Linked DNA regions of Homo sapiens: region 1 is linked to region 2. Evidence: promoter capture Hi-C in 16 types of primary human blood cells and fetal thymus (Javierre and others, 2016). All regions are on one chromosome and are shown on one strand. The core of a region is centred on a gene start or on the middle of the fragment in contact, and the rest is flanking DNA. Distances in the headings are between cores, read along the strand shown. Region 1 overlaps CD101-AS1 (CD101 antisense RNA 1). Region 2 holds the start of ATP1A1-AS1 (ATP1A1 antisense RNA 1).

Region 1 (2,700 bases), core at 184-2,683, 640 kb after region 2:
CTGAGACTGCACCACTTCCAGCCTGAGGGGCTGAGTGAGACCCTGTCTCCAAAAAAAAAAAAAAAAACAAATTGACATGACTATACTCATAGTACATAGTACATTGTATAATGTTTGTTACTTAACATTATACAAATGATTACTATGTCTTTTTATGTCTTTGTATTAATAACAATTAATGTCATTTTAACTTAGGTTTAAGTTCCATACAAACGTTAAAGGAAAAAGACTTTCAAGACCATTTAAAAAGAGGAAGATGATGGCTAAAAAGCACACGAAAAAGAGTGCCACATCAATAGAAAAATCAAAATTCAAACAAAAGTCAGATACCACTTCATACCTACTAAAAAAGGCACGCAATAACAAGCATTGTTGAGGACATGAAGAACTGGGAACCCTCATACGTTGCTGGTGGAAATATAAAATGGTATAGCCACTTTGGAAAGTGGTTTGGCAATTTCTTAAAAAGTTAAACAAACTAACCATATGAACTAGCAATTCCACTCACAGGTTTATCTGCCCAAGAGAAATGAGAACAAATGTTCATATAAAGACTTTAACGTTAGGCCGGGTGCGGTGGCTCATGCCTGTAATCCCAGTACTTAGGGAGGCTGAGGCAGATAGATTACCTGAGGTCAGGAGTTTGAGACCAGCTTGGCCAACATGGTGAAACCCTGTCCCTACTAAAAATATAAAAATTAGCTTACGTGGTGGCTCGAGCCTATAATCCCAGCTACTCGGGAGGCTGAGGCAGGAGAATTGCTTGAACCTGGGAGCTGGAGGTTGCAGTGAGCCAAGATCATGCCACTGCACTCCAGCTTGGGTGACAGAGCAAGACTCCATCTCAAAAACAACAACAACAAAAAACAAAAAAACAAAAACAAAAACAATAAAACAGACTTTAACATTAATGTTCATAGCAATATTATTCCTAATAATTCCAAAGGGAAAATGATCCAAATGTCCACCAACTGGTGAATGAACACAATGGAATATTACTCAGCAATAAAAAGGAGTGAAATACTGATACATGTGCAACATGGGTAAACCTCACAAGCATTATGTAAGTGAAAGAAGACAGAGGCAAGAGACTACATATTACATGACTCCATTATATGAAATGTCCAGAAAAGGCAAACTTATAAAGACAGAAAGCATATCAGAGGTTGCCTTGGGACTAGCTGGGGGTGGCAGTTGGGATTGACTGCACACAGCTTTGAGGAAAGTTTTTGAGTGATAGAAATGTTTTAAAACTGGATTCTGGTGGTGATGGCACAACTTTATAAATTTACTTAAACAATGAATTGTGGGCCAGGTGTGATGGCTCATGCCTGTAATCCCAGCACTTTGGGAGGCCGAGGCGGGTGGATCACCTGAGTTCAGGAGTTCGAGACCAGCCTGGCCAACAGGGTGAAACCCCATCTCTACTAAAAATACAAAAATTGGCCAGGCGTGGTGGCGGGCACCTGTAATCCCAGCTACTCGGGAGGCTGAGGCAGGAGAGTCACTTGAACCCAGGAGGCAGAGGTTACAGTGAGCCAAGATCATGCCACTGTACTCCAGCCTGGCAACAGAGTGAGACTCTGTCTCAAAAAAAAAAAAAAAAGAATTGTGGCCGGGCGCGATGGCTCAAGCCTGTAATCCCAGCACTTTGGGGGGTCGAGGCGAGTGGATCACCTGAGTTCAGGAGTTCAAGACCAGCCTGGACAACATGGTGAAACCCCATCTCTACTAAAAATACAAAAATTAGCTGAGCGTGGTGGCACAAGCCTATAATCCCAGCTACTCAGGAGGCTGAGGCAGGAGAATCACTTGAACCCAGGAGGCGGAGGTTGCAGTGAGCCAAGATCCTACCATTGCACTCCACTCCAGCCTGGGTAACAGACAAGACTCCAACTGAAAAAAATACCTGTACATTTACCAAAAAAAAAAAAAAAAAAAAAGAAGAAGATAAAGAGCCTGCATTGAACCACTTTTGGAATAATATTTTAAGAACAGTGAAATTTGGAATCTAGTACTGAAAAAATATTGGTATAACAAAATAATTTGTAAAGTCTCTTGGCTTTACAAATTATAACCACATTTGTTCTCACTATAGTATCATCCTGATCGAGCCTATGTCAAAGGACAAGTTGAAAACAGTCATATGTTTGAAAGGCACAAAATGAAATGAAATGAAATTGAATTACCATTATATATCTTCAAACAAAAAGAATGAAACAGAGGAGGGTGGGCCTCAGTTTGGTTTTTATGTTACTAGGCTGCTACCTAGTGGTCATTTATAAAATGGCAGGACTTGGGTTTTTGGTTTTTGTCTTGGATTTGTTGAGCCATGTCTCTACACCACAGCAAATACCTAAACACTTACCGATGTGTGGGTTAAATATCTGAATGCATTGCTGAATAATTTATGCTTTATAAAAATACTATAGGCTGGGCGCAGTGGCTCAGGCCTGTAATCCCAGCACTTTGGGAGGCCGAGGCAGGTGGATCACCTGAGGTCTCAGGAGTTCGAGACCAGCCTGGCCAACATGGCGAAACCCCATCTCTACTAAAAATACACAAAATTGCTGGGCGTGGTGGTGGGTGCCTGTAATCCCAGCTACTTGGGAGGCTGAGGCAGGAGAATTGCTTAAACCTGGGAAGTGGAGGTTGCAGTGAGCCGAGATCACGCCACTGCACTCCAGCCTGGGCGACAGA
Region 2 (2,700 bases), core at 170-2,669:
TGAGACAGGACCTGACTGTCACCCAGGCTGGAGTGCACTGGCATGATTACAGCTCACTGCAGCCTCGACCTGCCAGGCTCAAGCCATCCTCCCACCTCAGCCTCCAGAGTAACTGGGACTACAGGCATGCGCCACCACATCCTGCTAATTTTTATATTTTTTGTAGAGATGGGGTTTTTGCATGTTGCCAGGCTGATTTCAAACTTCTGAGCTCAAGCCATCTGCCTGCCTTGGCCTCCTAAAGTGTTGGGATTATAGGCAAATGAGCCACCACGCCAGCCCACAATTCACTTTAAACACAAGTGAAACACATTTCATTAGACAGTGGAATAGACTTATGTCAATTTTCTTTTCTCTCTTATTTTACACAGTCTGATTTCCTGAAGACAGGAGGCGGGAGTAAGCTAATCAGGCCCTGAGTTAGCTGTTTCCAAGAAGCTTAGAGTGTCCCACTTACCTACGGGTTGCAGGGCCCGCATTGCCAGTAGGGCTGGCTTTTAGGGATGCTGCTGTTGGTGTGTGCTGTACTTGTTTTCTAGGATTGGGACAAGCTTCCTTGAGCTCCTGACTTTAGAGACCAGGTTTGGGAACTGATGGGTGCAGCAAATGCAAACAGACAGCAAACAGGCCAAAGAGGAGATTCATTCACTGAAGAGGGCCCTGGTACAGTACTGTCGAGGTTTTGCGGTGGCCTGGACACGGCTGGCTCCTTCGACTTACACAATATATCTTCTCTCTCTCTTACCTGCACTTATAAGAATCGGTGCTAAGGGTATGTGCCTACCACAGTGCAGCTTGTAGATTAATGAAGAAAGAATTGCTGCCACTTCCCAAATATTAAACGCCAGGTTCTGCCTATGCATATTCTCTCAACCTTCACAACACACCTACTAACTCCAGCTTACAAATGAGGAGACGAACCAGCAGGCTGTTCCAGGCGTCTGGTTGTAAGAGCAGTGGCAGTAGAGAAAATGATTTATTTTAGCACCAGCCACTGTGCTAATCCCTTTAGATATCATCTCATTTAATCCTTTTAACAACCCTGAAGCACCATCCTTATTCTAAAGGGACTTCGGACCTCTCTGCGGTCCACACTGTCCCCTGCTCGGTGCAGGAGTGTAGACTGGGACTGTTCCGTCTGGTGGTCTCCCCGACAAGGGTTCACCTGGAAACTGGCCTTTGGGCTGGGATTGGGACTCTGTACTTAGGCTGGCAGCCCATATTAGGACTGGGCACCGTGATAAGCACTTTCTTACCGCAAATGCACGATTTCACTCGGCCCTCACACACCCCACGAGGTGGGCACCGTCACAGTGCCATCTCACAGGCAAGGAGGCCAGGCCCAGGCCCTGAGGATGCGCCGCTCAGGTGGGAGCTTCCGGGGAGCTCGCGCGACAGCCTGGGGGAGCGCGGATTCGTCTCTGCGCTACGGCGGCTGCAGAGGGTCAACCCGCGGAGGCGGCGCTTCGCGGCGGGTCCTCGGCCTGAGGCTGTGGGATGCCTCCAAACCCGGCGCGGCCTCCGTCTGCAAGGAGAGCAGAGGGTCCCCGCCGGGAGCGCGCCCGGCTGCGGCCCCAGGCGGCCCTGCCCGCAGCCGCCACCTGAGCTTGGGCGCGGCTCCTATCTCCCACCCGCGCGTCGGCCAGTGAAGGGCTCCGTGCTTAAACATCATTCGTTACAGAAGTATTGCGGCCATCACACGGCATTTTAAAAACACGAATGATGATAAATAACTTTAACACTGCTTCCAATTCTGCCTCCAAGCACAGCATCATTACCATTTGCATGCGTTTCACTTCATTCGATTTCCATGTGTATGGATTTGTTTCTACATAGCTGTGGTAAAACGCACATACTAAACTGAATCCAGGGTTGTTTTCCACTTTGTAACATGAACATTTTCACCGTGTTAGTACTGACGCTTCCTACCTATAATTTTTAATGGCAGGACTTTAAAAAATTGGGTTGATACGCTGTCACTTCTCTGAGCATCTCGCAAATGTTCAACATTCAAGTGGCTTCCAAAGCTTCACGATTATAAATTATTCATTCTTTTTTGTTTTGTTTGGTTGTTTGTTTGTTTGTTTGTTTGTTTTTTGAGACGATGTCTCGCTCTTGTCGCCCAGGCTGGAGTGCAGTGGCGCGATCTCAGCTCACTGCAACCTTCGCCTTCCAGGTTCAAGAGATTCTCCTGCCTCAGCCTCCTGAGTAGCTGAGATTACGGGCATCTGCCACCACGCCCACCTAATTTTTGTACTTTCAGTAGAGACGGGGTTTCATCATGTTGGCCAGGCTGGTCTCGAACTTCTGACCTCAGGTGCTTCTCCCTCGACCCGGCCTCGGCCTCCCAAAGTGCTGGGATTACAGCACTTTGCTGCCCAGCCCATTCTTGTGTATAAAGTCCTTTCAGTATTGAGATCAGTTTCCTTAGGTTATATTCACAGGAGTGAAACTGCTAAGTCAGAATGTGAGCATTTAAAAGCTTTCAGTATTATTGCCAAATGGCTTTTCACAGATGACTCAGGGAGGTTTTGGTACTTGGAACACTGCTACTTATATCCCACTCCCCCCCCCCCCCACCAGGAAAACATCTAAAGTGCACTTTTTTTTTTTTTTTTTTTTTTTTTGTGAGACGGTATCTCGCTCTGTCGCCCAGGCTGGAGTGCAGTGGCGCGATCTCCGTTCACTGCAAGCTCCGCC

The links. Contacts are between HindIII fragments. The CHiCAGO score rates a contact against its expected background, and 5 or more counts as called.
Region 1: a fragment that was not itself captured here is called in contact with the fragment with the promoter of ATP1A1-AS1 in region 2 in 8 of 17 cell types (total B cells, fetal thymus, naive B cells and 5 more); the score reaches 10.2 in total B cells.

What each region holds. Positions count from the first base shown.
Region 1 is chr1:117,053,262-117,055,961 of GRCh38, forward strand. The region is part of intron 1 of CD101-AS1 (CD101 antisense RNA 1); the gene reads right to left. Among named protein-coding and RNA genes, the nearest start is that of CD101-AS1, 4.9 kb to the right of the region's middle. The HindIII fragment of the contact is 6,290 bases long and covers 1-2,700 here.
Region 2 is chr1:116,417,203-116,419,902 of GRCh38, forward strand. It overlaps ATP1A1-AS1 (ATP1A1 antisense RNA 1), which reads right to left and starts at 1,420. Exons shown (of 3, transcript NR_027646.1): 1 at 1,257-1,420. RefSeq lists an enhancer at 1,245-1,539 and a silencer at 1,499-1,628. The HindIII fragment of the contact is 1,476 bases long and covers 550-2,025 here.